Linked DNA regions of Homo sapiens: region 1 is linked to region 2. The links are contacts of gene promoters, found by promoter capture Hi-C in blood cells and fetal thymus (Javierre and others, 2016). All regions are on one chromosome and are shown on one strand. Each heading gives the region's core, a stretch centred on a gene start or on the middle of the fragment in contact. The rest is flanking DNA. Distances are from core to core; before and after follow the strand shown. Region 1 has its middle 40 kb from the start of SYTL4. Region 2 holds the start of SYTL4 (synaptotagmin like 4).

The links. The method cuts DNA at HindIII sites, captures the fragments that hold promoters and counts their contacts. A CHiCAGO score of 5 or more calls a contact.
Region 1: a contact is called between a fragment that was not itself captured here and the fragment with the promoter of SYTL4 in region 2, in 1 of 17 cell types (megakaryocytes). The highest score is 9.1, in megakaryocytes.

What each region holds. Positions count from the first base shown.
Region 1 is chrX:100,768,212-100,775,485 of GRCh38, reverse strand. No RefSeq gene overlaps it. Among named protein-coding and RNA genes, the nearest start is that of SYTL4, 40 kb to the right of the region's middle. RefSeq lists an enhancer at 6,452-6,746. The HindIII fragment of the contact is 8,719 bases long and covers 1-6,685 here.
Region 2 is chrX:100,728,615-100,735,226 of GRCh38, reverse strand. SYTL4 (synaptotagmin like 4) reads left to right here and starts at 3,106. Exons shown (of 20, transcript NM_001370165.1): 1 at 3,106-3,223; 2 at 3,722-3,809. The HindIII fragment of the contact is 2,913 bases long and covers 1,216-4,128 here.

The sequences.
Region 1 (7,274 bases), core at 1,077-3,576, 41 kb before region 2:
CCACTTCAGCCTTTCAAGTAGCTGGGACCACAGGTGTGTGCCATCATGCCCAGCTAATTTTTATTTTATTTATTTATTTTTAACTTTAAAAATTTTATATTTTTCATTTCCATAGGTTTTTGGGGAACAGGTGCTATTTGGTTACATGAGTAAGTTCTTTAGTGGTGATTTGTGAGATTTTGGTGTACCCATTTTACCTGAGCAGTATACACTGAACCCAATTGTAGCCTTTTATCCCTCACCCCCTTCTCACCCTTTTCCCCTGAGTCCCCAAAGTCCATTGTATCATTCTTCTGCCTTTGCATCCTCATAGCTTAGCTCCCACTTATAAGTAAGAACATATGATGTTTGGTTTTCCATTGTTGAGTTGCTTCACTTAGAATAATAGTCTGCAATCCCATCCAGGTTGCTGTGAATGCTATTAGTTCATTCCTTTTTATGGCTGAGTAGTATTCCATCATATACATGTATATATATGTGTATATATATATTGTGTATACATATATATATATACACACACACCACAATTTCTTTATCCACTTGTTGATTGATGGGCATTTGATGGCCAGCTAATTAAAAAAAAATTTTTAAGAGATGGGGTCTTACTATGTTGCCCAGGCTGGAGTGCAGTGGCTATTCAGAGGCATGATCATGGTGTACTATAGCCTTGAACTCCTGGGGTCAAGTGATCCTCCTGTCTCAGCCTCCCAAGTAGCTAGAATTACAGGCATGCACCACTGTGCCTGGCTGTATAAGATGTTTTGTGTAAACCTCAGGGTAACCACAAAGCAAAAGCCTACAATACAAATACAAAAGAGAAAAAGAAAAGACCCAAGGTATACCACTACAGAAAGCCATCAAACAACTAAGAAAGAAAGCAAGGGAAAAGGAAGGGAGCAAAAGATCTATAAAACAACTAGAAATATCCAGAATCTATAGGGAACTTAAATCAACAAGCAAAAAGCAAATAACCTCATTGAAAAGTGGGCAAAGGACATGAACAGACACTTCTCAAAAGAAGACATACAAGTGACCCACAAACATGAAAAATGCTCATAATCTCTAATCATCAGAGAAATGCAAGTCAAAACCACAAGGAAATACCATCTCACACCAGTAAGAATGGCTTTTGTTAAAAAGTAGAAGACAAAAACAGATATTGGTGAGGCTGCAGCAAAAAGGGGACACCTGTATATGGCTGGTGGAAATGTAAAAATTAGTCCAGACACTGTGGAGAGCAGTTTGGAGATTTCTCAAAGAACTAAGAGTTGAACTACCATTCGACCCAGCAATCCCATTACTCGGTATACACCCAAACAAAAATAAATTGTTCTACCAAGATGACACGTGCATCCATATGTTCATCACAGTGCTATTCATAATAGCAAAAACATGGAATCAACCCAGGTACCCATCAACAGTGGACTGGATAAAGAAAATGTGGTATGCAGACACCATGGAATACTATGCAGCCATAAGGAAAAATGAAATCATGTCCTTTGCAGCAACGTGGATGCAGCTGGAGGCCATTATCCTAAGGGAACTAATGCAGAAACAGAAAACCGTACACTGCATGTTCTCACTTACAAGCGGGAGCTAAACATCAGTTACTCATGGTCATAAAGATGGCAACAAAACTAGTGACTACTAGCAGGTGGAGGAGGGGAAAGGGCTGAAAAACTACCTATTGGGTACTATGCTCACTACCTGGGTGATAGGTTCAGTCATACCCCAAACCTCAGCATCATGCAATATACATTTGTAACAAATATGTACATGTACCCCGACTCTAAAAAGTTGAAAAAAAAAACCTCTAGAAAACAATGAACAAAATGGCAAGAGTAAGTTCATACCTATCAATAATAATCTTGAATGTATACGAATTAAATTCTTCAATTAAAAGACATACAATGACTGGATGATAAAAAAACAAGACCTGTATATATGTGTCCAACAAGAGGCTCACCTCATATGTAAGGACACACATAGACTGAAAGTGAAGGGATGAAAAGAGGATACTTCCTGCAAATGTAAATTAAAAGAGAGCAGGAGTAGCTATATTTATATCAGATAAAACAGACTTTAAGTCAAAAACAGCAAAAAGAGACAAAGTCATCGTATGAAGATAAATAGGTCAATTCAGCAAGAGTATATAACAATTGTAAATATATATGCACCTAACACCTGAACACCCAAATATGTATAGCAAATATTGATGGATCTAAAGGTAGAGATAGACTACAATATAATAATACTAGCGGACTTTTAACAGACCACTTTCAGCAATGGACAGATTGTCCAGACAGAAACATCAGCAAAAAAATCAGAGCTAAACTACACTCTAGACCAGGTGGACCTAACTGACATTTACAGAGCATTTCATCAAACAATTTCAAAATACACATTCTTGTCATCAGCACATAGAATATTCTTCAGGTTGGACCATATGGGCTAGGTCATAAAACAAGTCTCAAAAAATTTAAAACATTGAAATCATATCAATTATCCTTTCTGACCATAGTAGAATAAAACTAGGAATCAATAACAAGAGGAACTTTGGAAACTGTACAAATACATGGAAATTAAACATGCCTTTGGACAACCAATGGCTAAAGGGAGAAATTAAGAAGAAAATTTTTAAAATTTCTTGAAAGAAATGAAAATGGAAACCCACCATACCAAACCTATGGGATACAGAAAAAGCAGTACTAAGAAGGAAGTTTGTAGTAATAAATGCCTATGTCAAAGAAGTAGAAGATTTCAAATAAACAACCTAATGATGCACTTCAGGGAACTAGAAAAACAAGAACAAGCCAAACCCAAAATTAGTAGAAGGAAATGAATAAGAAATGTCAGAGCAGAAATAAACAAAATAGAGACTAGAAAAACAATACAAAAGATCAAGAAAACAAAAGGTTGGTTTTATGAAAAGATAAAATTAAAAAAAAAACTACTAGTTAAACTAAGAAAGAAAAAGAGAAGACCCAAAGAAATAAAATCAGAAATAAAAAAGAAGACATTACAAGTGATAAAACAGAAATATGAATTATCATTAGAGAATATTATGAACAACAATACACTAACAAATTGGAAAACCTAGAGAAAATGGATTAATTCCTGGTCACATATAACCCACCAAGATTGAAAAAAATAGAAAACATGAACAGGCTGATAACAAGTAATTAGACTGAATCAGTAATACAAAGTCTCCCAATAAAGAAAAGTCTAGGACTGGATGGCTTCACTGCTGAGTTATACCAAAGTTTTAAAGAAGAACAAACATAATTTATCCTCAAACTATTCCAAACAATGGAAGAGGAAGGAATTCTTTCTACTCATTCTACAGAGCCAGCATTACTCTGATACCAAAACTAGACAAGGACACAACAACAAAAAAAGAAAACTACAGGCAAATAGCCCTGATGAACATAGATGAGAAATGCTCAACAAAATGTTAGTAAACCACATTCCACAGCACATCAAAAAGATTATACAACATGATCAAGCAGAATTTATCCCAGGAATGGAAGGCTGGTTGAACATATGCAAATCAATAAATGTGATATATCATATCAACAGAATGAAGGACAAAAACCATGTAATCATCTCAACACATGCAGAAAAACATTTAATAAAATTCAACATCTCTTCATGGTAAAAACTATCAACAAATTAGGTATAGAGAAAAACATACCTCAAAACAATAAAGACCATATATGATGAACCCACAGCTAACATCAAACTGAATAAGGAAAAGTTGAAAGCATTTTTTTTTAAGATCTGGACAAAGACAAGGAAGCCTAGTTTCACCACTTTTATTCAACATAGTGCTGGAAGTCTTAGCCAGAGCAATTAGGCAGGAGAAAGAAATAAAGGGCATCCAAATTGGAAAGGAGGAAGTCAAATTGTCCCTGTTTGCAGATAACATGATCTTATATTTTGAAAACCCCAAAGACTCGTCCAAAACACTCTTAGAACCGATAAATGAATTCAGTAGGATTCAAAATATCTCAAATAATATATAAAATATCTCAAAATAATAAGAGCTATTTATGACAAACCCATAGCCAATAACATACTGAATGGGCAACAGCTGGAAGCATTCCCTTTAAAAACCGGCAGAAGACAAGGATGCCCTCTCTCACCACTCCTATTCAACGTAGTATTTGACGTTCTGGCCAGGGCAATCAGGCAAGAGAGAGAAATAAAGGATATTCAAATAGGAAGAGAGGAAGTCAAATTGTCTCTATTTGCAGATGACATGGTTGTGTACTTAGAAAACCCCATAATCTCAGCCCCAAAACTCCTTAAGCTAATAAGCAACTTCAGCAAATTCTCAAGATACAAAATTGATGTGCAAAGATCACAAGCATTCCTAAACACCAATAATAGACAAGCAGAGAGCCAAATCATGAGTGAATTCCCATTCACAATTGCTACAAAGAGAATAAAATAGCTAGGAATACAACTTACAGGGGACATGAAGGACCTCTTCAAGGAGAACTACAAACCACTGCTCAAGGAAATAAGGGAGGACACAAACAAATGGAAAAACATTCCATGGTCATGGGTAGGAAGAATAAATATCGTAAAAATGGCCACACTGCCCAAAGTAATTTATACATTCAATGATATTCTCATCAAGCTACCATTGACTTTCTTCGCAGAATTAGAAAAAATTACTTTAAATTTCATATGGAACCAAAAAAGAGCCCGTATAGCAAAGACAAGCAAAAAGAACAAAGCTGGAGGCATCACACTGCCTGACTTCAAACTATAATACAAGGGTACAGTAACCAAAACAGCATGGTAGTGGTACCAAAATAGATATATAGACCAATGGAACAGAACAGAGGCCCCAGAAGTAACACCACACATCTACAACCATCTGATTTTGACAAACCTGACAAAAACAAGCAATGGGGAAATGATTCCCTATTTAATAAATGGTGCTGGGAAAACTGGCTAGCCATATGCTGAAAACAAACTGGACCCCTTCCTTACACCTTATACAAAAATTAACTCAAGGTGGATGAAAGACTTAAATTTAAAACCCAAAACCATAAAAACCCTAGAAGAAAACCTAGGCAATACCATTCAGGACATAGGCATGGGCAAAAACTTCATGACTAAAACACCAAAAGCAATGGCAACAAAAGCCAAAATTGACAAATGGAATCTAACTAAAGAGCTTCTGCACAGAAAAGAAACTATCATCAGAGTGAACAGGCAGCCTACAGAATGGGAGAAAATGTTTGCAATCTTTCTATCTGACAAAGGTCTAATATCCAGAATCTACAAGGAACTTAAACAAATTTACAAGAAAAAAACAACCCCATCAAAAAGTGGGCAAAGGATATGAACAGACACTTCTCAAAAGAAGACATTTATGTGACCAACAAACATATAAAAAATGCTCATCATCAGTGGCTATTAGAGAGATGCAAATGAAAACCACAATGAGATACCATCTCATGCCAGTTAGAAAGGCGATTATTAAAAAGTCAGGAAACAACAGATGCTAGAGAGGATGTGGAGAAATAAGAACGCTTTTACACTGTTGGCAGGAGTGTAAATTAGTTCAACAATTGTGGAAGACTGTGTGGTGATTCCTCAAGGATCTAGAACCAGAAATACCATTTGACCCAGCAATCCCATTACTGGGTATATACCCAAAGGATTAGAAATCATCCTACTATAAAGACACATGCACACGTATGTTTATTGCAGCACTATTTACAATAGCAAAGACTTGGAACCAACCCAAATGCCCATCAATGATAGACTGGATAAAGAAAATGTGGCACATATACACCATAGAATACTATGCAGCCATGAAAAAGAATGAGTTCATGTCCTTTGCAGGGACATGGATGAAGCTGGAAACCATCACTGTCAGCAAACTAACGCAGGAACAGAAAACCAAACACCGCACGCTCTCACTCATAAGTGGGAGTTGAACAACGAGAACACATGGACACAGGGAGGGGAACATCACACACTGGGGCCTGTCGGGGGATGGGGGTCAAGGGGAGGGAGAGCATTAGGACAAATACTTAATGCATGCCGGACTTAAAACCTAGATGACCGTTGATGGGTGCAGCAAGCCACTATGGCACATGTATGCCTATGTAACCTGCACGTTCTGCACATGTATCCCAGATCTTAAAATAATAAATAAATAAATAAATAAGTTTCTGCATCACAGGCTAGTGTGAAGCCAACCAAATTGAAGTGTGGTAACAAAGAAAACACGACATTCATTTGCCAGAGCCCTTTCTTCCAAAATAGCGGGCATGATTGGGAAAGAACTCCCAACTCCCTGAGTTGGGAAAGTCTCCCTGAGTAGGGAAAGAAGAATGGAAAATATATCCAACATTCTAACTTTTCTGGAGTGGGGGCGGTGGCTTCCCATGGGACTAGTGTCTGTCTTGCTAAAGCTAAGTACTGATAAGAATGGGGTGCCAGGTTGGGGGCTGCTGAGAAAAAGAGAGTTAAATGTGCACCAGAGTGCATTATCACAGATAGACACTAGGCGGCGCTCCAGTGCTATGTCTTATTAAACCACCAGCGAGGCTGCAGTACTACAGATAGACACCAGGTGGGGCTCCTGAGTAGAAGCCAGTAAAGTTCAACTGGGAGCTTAACATACAAAAGCCCAGACAGGAAGGATCCTTAGAAAGCTTTATATGTCTCCAGAACTCTAGTTGATCTAATTGGAGAAAGTCCTCCCTGTATGAAACCAGACTCCAAAGACTGCAATAGGTGGCTGTTTCGTGAATGAAGTCCCAACAGATGATAACAAGGCATACAAAGAAACAAGGAAACATGACCCAACAAAAGAACGTTAATATTCAGAAACTGTCCCTAAAGAAGTAAGATAAGTGAATTACCAGAGGAAGAATTTAAAAATAACCACCATAAGGATGCTCAATGTGAATTAAAAGAGAGTACAGACAGACAACTAAATAAAATCAGGAAAATGAACAAAATGAGAATATCAACAGATATAAAAACCATGAAGAAGAGCCAAACAGAAATTCTGAAACTGAAGAATACAATAACTGAATTGAAAACCTCACTATAGAAGTCCAACAGCAGATTTGACCAGATAGAACAAATCAGTGAACTTGAAGACAGGAAATTGAAATTATCTAGACAGAGGAGCCAAAAGAACAAAAGAATGAATAAAACTGAACAGAGCCTAAAGGACTTATGGGACACTCTCAAATGTAACAATATATGCATTATGGGAGTCCTTGAGGGGGAAAAAA
Region 2 (6,612 bases), core at 1,857-4,356:
AGCATTATGTCTAAAAAACCAATGACCTTAATTGAAAAATACTTTAGGCCAGGCACGGTGGCTCATGCCTGTAATCCCAGCACTTTTGGGAGGCCAAGGCAGGAGGATCACTTAAGCTCAGGAGTTAGAGACCAGCCTGGGCAACATAGTGAGGCCTGTCTCTAATAAAATACTTTTAAAAATATATAGCTGGACATGGTGGTGTGTGCCTATAGTCCCAGCAACTCGGAGGCTGAGGTGGGAGTATGGCTCGAGCCCAGGAGATAGAGTCTACAGTGAGCTACAATTGTGCCACCGCCCTCCAGGGTGGTGACAGAGCGAAACCTTGTCTCAAAAAAAGAAAAACTTTATTGTTAAAAAATGCAAATGATCCTGTGAGCCTTCAGTGAGTTGTAATCTTTTTGCTGGTGGGAGGTCTCGCCTTGATGTTGATGGCTGCTGCCTGATCAGGGTGATGGTTCCTGAAGGCTGGGATGGCTGTAGCAATTTCTTAAAATAAGACAACAATGAAGATTGCTGTATTGATTGACTCTTCCTTTCACAAAAGATTTCTCTGTAGCATGCGATGCTGTTTGATTCCATTTTACACACAGTAGAACTTCTTCCAAAATTGGAGTCAATCCTCTCAAACCCTGCTGCTGCTTTATCAACTAAGTTTATGTCACATTCTAAATCCTTTTTTTTTTTTTTTTGCGACGGAGTCTCACTCTGTCACCCAGGCTGGAGTGCAGTGGCGGGATCTCGGCTCACTGCAAGTTCCGCCTCCCGGGTTCACGCTATATTCTCCTGCCTCAGCCTCCCGAGTAGCTGGGACTACAGGTGCTGGCCACCATGCCTGGTAATGTTTTGTATTTTTAGTAGAGACGGAGTTTCACCGTGTTAGCCAGGATGGTCTCAATCTCCTGACCTCGTGATCCGCCCTCCTCGGCCTCCCAAAGTGCTGGGATTACAGGCGTGAGCCACCGTGCCTGGCCTCTAAATCCTTTGCTGTTGTTTCAACAGAGTTCACATCATCTTCACCAGGAGTAGATTCCATCTCAAGAAATCACTTTCTTGGTTCACACAGGAAGCAACTCCTTGGTCAGTCAAGTTTTATCATGAGATTGCAGCAATTCAGTCACATCTCTGGGTTCCACTTTTTTTTTTTTTGAGATGGAGTCTCGCTCTGTCACCCAGGTTGGGGTGCAGTGGCAGGATCTCGGCTCACTGCAAGCTTCACCTCCTGGGTTCACGCCATTCTCCTGCCTCAGCCTCCCGAGTAGCTGGGACTACAGGCGGCCGCCACCACGCCTGGCTAACTTTTTGTATTTTTAGTAGAGACGGGGTTTCACCGTGTTAGCCAGGATGGTTTCGATCTTCTGACCTCGTGATCTGCCCGCCTCGGCCTCCCAAAGTGCTAGGATTACAGGCGTGAGCCACTGTGCCTGGCCTCTGGGTTCAACTTCTAATTCTAGTTCTCTTGCTATTTCTACCACATGTGTAGTGACTTCCTCCACTGAAGTCTTGAACCCTTCAAAGTCATCCATGAGGGTTGGAATCAACTTCTTCCAAACTCCTGTTAATGTTGATATTTTGCCCTTCTCCGTTGAATCATGAATGTTCTTAATGGCATCTAGAATGGTGAATCCATTGCCTTGAGTGGCATGTTGTCATTTACTGATATAAGAAATACTGGAGGAGGAACAAATTTAAGAGAAAAGATGGTAGGTTTAACTTTGGATGTGTTGAATTTGAGGTGTCTGCAGGACATTCAAGTGGAGATGTCAAGAACACAGAACTCAATAAAGCAGTCTGGGTAGAGTTATAGAATTAGAGTTGTGACCATATATATGGTAATTAAAGCCAAGTGAGTGAAAAAGATTATTTGGGGGAGGGAGTATATGTATCCTAGCCCTGAGAATGTCTGACTTTCAGAGGTCAGATAGCAGAAGAGTGGCCTACAAAGGTCACTGAGGAGAGGGCAAAGGAGTAGGAGGAAAAGCAAAAGAGTAAAATGTCATAGATGCCATAGAAAGTTTCAAGGACGAGGAAATGGTTAACGGTGTTAAATGTAGGGGAGAAGTCAAGCAAAATAAGGACCAAAAATACCTTACTTATTTATGGATTTATTGACACTGAGGGTCATTGTTTGTGTATCTCATTGAGAAGTTTCAGTGGGGGAAGGAAGCCAGACTGCTGAGAGCTAAGAAATGAATGAGAAGTAAGGGAATAAAAATTGCAATTTCACCTGTGAAGTACATTTTCAATACATTTGCCCATAAAGAGGACCTGAAGAGGGACCTCCTGTGTAGGGAGGTTCTTTTTTTAAGATGGTAGATACTTGAGCATGTTTAATTGCTGATGTGAAATGAGGGGGAGAGGGATGGGAGAGGCAGGGAGAGGAATCTGCAATTACTGGGTAGGTATAAACATTTTCAAGTCTATTGATACATATTGCTCACGTGCTTTCTAAAAGGGTTTTTAACCAACATATGCTGCTATCAGCAATTAAGACAGCTTGTTTGGTGGCTACTTTGTCATCATTAAGTGTTATTAAAAAATAAAAAATATCTTTGCCAAAGAATCTCATTATTGTTCTAATTTGCTTTTCTTTGATTACTAGTGAGTTGGATATTTTAACCAGTTGTGTCCTTGAGTGTGTATGTATGAATTTAGTCTACGCTTTTGCCCAAAACGTTTCTATTTTAGACAGACATTTATTTGCCATAAAAGGCCACAAGTCAAAGGATCAGAATGGTATTATATTTTATTTACTCAAATTAGATAGTTCATACTCTTTTATCTTCTTAGAAGTGTGAGACAATTTGACAACTTTTGACTCAGCTGAACGAAAGAGACAGGTGATTTCACCGTCTAAGAGAGTGACCAACAGATGGAAGTAAGTGGGTGAGGAGGCACGTCTAGTGTTAGACCCCTATCCTCAGTCCCCAGGCTCCCATTCCTAACCTGGAAGGACATTCCTCTTGTGTCTCAAGGCTTTGGGTCCCAGAGCTCCCTTTTGGGCTGAGTGGCCCCCTGCTAAGGAGCCCGGGGCGCTGTGCGGCCCCTTTAAGAGTCCAGCTCCTCCCCGCTCCAGGGAAAGTTGCAGCTTTTTCCGCCTCCCGGGAGGGTGAGAAGGGCCGGCTGCCGGAGCTGGGTTGCGATCTTCCCGGAGCCGGAGACCCTCCCTTGAAACCGGCACTGGGACTTCTCGATCTCTGGAGGCACCTGTTGCAAGTGACAGGTAGGTCAACAGCCAGCGGCCGGCCCCTCGCCCTCGGTCCGGTGCTCCTTCTGGACCCCCAGCTCCTTTTCGCTGCTGAAGCGCCCCCACCCCCATCTCGGGGTCGTGCGTCTTCCCTACCCGCTCTCTGGTCCCCCAATTTTTCCTTCTCCCTAGCTGACCGCGTCTCCCCTCTCCCCGTCCGCCTCTCCCGACCGCATCCCCAGGCTTGGACTCCCGTCTGCTTGGGCGGTCCCTCCCGGCCACTTTTCTTTCTCCAGGGCTTCTTCTGGCCCCTTCCCTGACCCACCCAGCACTAATGCGGTCTGTGCCCCTCTGGGAGCCGCCTCCCCTCTCCTCTTCGGCTCCCCTCGCGGGGAGTGCCCGGGCTTTTTCCCGCCAGCCCGAGCTGGTGCCCCTCCCGAGAGCTGGCCCTGGGGGCGGGGGCGGGGCCGAGCTCCTAGCGGGAACTGCGCCCTCCAAGGCGTCCAGTCACCTTTTCGTGGGTTCCTCTCACAGCGCTCGGCCGTCGAGCGGGGTCGCTAACCCGCACTCTCTTCGGACCTACGACATCGCGGCTTCTCTGGCGTTGGCCAGTCAGCCACAGGTAAAGGCTGGAGGCTGGTTGGCTGGAGTCCTGCCTCAGTGGGCTCCCTCTGCGCTTGGGGCTGGGGACCTGGCTGTGTGCTGTGGAGCTGCTTTATATTGCCGCTCTTCAAGCAGGCTGTGAGAGATCTGGTACTGGAGGAGGGTCCCCGAGATCTCAGAAGGGGCACAGAATGCTTCTGTCTCCTGTGTTGGTTTGTAATGGGGCAGAAAAAGGTGTTCCTCCAACCCTTAACATTGAATGAGGTGGGATTTGGGGTGGTGAAATCATTTGGTTAGAATTCTGGTGGCTTGAAAAGTGGTGACTTTCTAATCAAGCTTTTCTTCCCCCAGTACCCTGCTTCTTCAGGATTAGAGGACGTAAAATTCCAGAGTACTGTGCTTGGCAGGGTTGACCCTAGACCTTGTATATTTGTGGCAAAAATGAGTCTTCTGTACATCCTGGACCTCCTATATTTAACTGGCTTATTTTCTGCTCTTTAAGCTCCCCACCCCCACCTCTCATAAATCTATTAATATTGAGGTATTAATGACTTAAGACTTTTGTCGCTGTGGGAACAATGTTTAATGCAGAGACGTGGCCTTGATGAAGTTTTCTGCGTTTTTGGTTGTTTGGTTTTTAGCACCCTAGTAGAAAAGCACCACCAACTTGGCTTGTGAGGCCCTTTTTGGGCAGAGGATGAACATTTCTGGTAACACAATTTCAGGTGTCTCACTCTTGGTCAGAGCAGTGAAATGGAGCTGGAGGCCTGTTCTGGGGTAATTGATCTGTGAGTATATGTAGCATTCTGGCTCTCTGAGCTTGTTAGGCTCTGGTTGTTAGGCTCCATTGAGCTGGACACTGTGATAAGTTCTTTACATAAAAATGCAATCCTCACAATAACTCTATACAGTAGGTGCTACAGTTATAACCATATTATGATGAAAAAGAGACTGAGAAGTTAAGTGCCTTGCCCTCAAAATCTCGGAGGCAGAGCTTGTGTTCCTATCCTGTCACACCACCTCTGTTGTCTTAGATGTTGGGAACACTGAATAGCTCATGGATGAGGACTAAGTGATTAAAAAATTGTCTTCCAAGCCCAAGTATATGTTTTTCTCCTTGCTTCCACCTTAGATGCACTGCCGAGACTATGGACTACTTACCTTACTGATGTCTTACCCACTTCATTTCCAACATGGGCCAGTTGCCACGTTACCACTATAAGTACACATCCCTGAGTGTAATTAGATGAATGAAATCTCCCGGGTTTTCAGCTCTGTGGTAATTGTCCTGAAGTTAGGGGAGGGTAACCCTGGATTCTAGGGATGTGTGCCTGACTCAACTTCTTCCTCTCCTGCTGGCTAGGGGAGAAATGAGGGAGTGGTAAGTGATATGGATTTCCTGACAGCCATACCAGAGAGCCTGAGGGTGATCGTGTGCTAGTTTTGTCATGGGATGGATGGAGTACCATAGACAAGGATAGGAAGAAAATGTCCTCCCTATTCCCATCTCTGGGACTTTGCTCAAACTGTTCCTTTTTTTCTTCCTAAAAAGCTAACTTTCCTCCCTCATTCCCCCTCCCCTGACATTAATTCCTATCCATCCCTCAAGATTGAGTTCTAAAGTCACCTCCTTTGGAACGGCCTTACTGAACACATACTTCTTCCCCCAAGCAGAATTGCCAGTTATCCTGTGTCCTAAAGCACTTTGTTTACACCTCAGTAAAGCCCTTAACACTGCTTAGTTGTTTTTCCACCTGGAAGGCTGTAAGTTCTCTAAGGGCAAGGTCTGGATCTCGGAGCTCCCTTTGTCTTAAATATAAGATGTTGGCAAATATTTGTGCCAGTAACCGGACATACCATGCCATTCCTTCAAGGGGCTGAGGTGTAGTGATGGTGGGGTTGAGGTACAGAAGACACCTTCCTGAGGCACTTGAAATACCACAGCTAGGAATTTGCCCTGACCACCCTATTTAAACGTGTAATCCCTTCCCTGAACATTCCATATGCCCTTTCCCTACCTTATTACATTGTTCTTGCTTATTGTCTGCCCTCCCACTCCCTCACCCACCATAACATAAACACCCTGTGGGCAGGGATTGCTGTCTGTTGTATTCACCAGTAGACTCTTGGACCCAGAACAGTCCTTGGTACATCATAGGTGCATACTAATATTTGTTAATGAATTAATGGCATTGCCATTCTAGGAATTTGGCACTCTTGGAGTTAGGCACTCCTGGACCTGAAACTAAGCCTACCCAGTTTGTCGCCCTACAGGTGTAAGTTTGCCCCAGGCCCAAAACTCAGCTTTACTTCTGCTGATTTTTGCTTTGAGATTGCATTCCTGATGCCAACTTTGACCTAGTTGGAAGTACTTCCTCTCTCTTACTTTTTTTTTTTTTTGAGGCAGAGTTTCGCTGTGTCGCCCAGGCTAGAGTACAGTGGCGCGATCTTGGCTCACTGCAAGCTCTGCCTCCTGGGTTCATGCCATTCTCCTGCCTCAGCCTCCCGAGTAGCTGGAACTACAGGCGCCCGCCACCATGCCCGGCTAGCTTTTTGTGTTTTTAGTAGAGACGGGATTTCACCGTGTTAGCCAGGATGGTCTCGATCTTCTGACCTCGTGATCTGCCCTCCTCGGCCTCCCAAAGTGCTGGGATTACAGGCGTGAGCCACCGCTCCTGGCCTCTCTATTTTTTAAAAGTATGAGTCTCTGGGTGGAAATCTCTAAAGTTTAAAAGTGGAAATGTAAAAATGTTGTGCTTCTTGTTGGTAGGAAGGGGGACTGCACTGGGAGGAAGGGGTGTGGATTGTCAGATGTCTTGAGG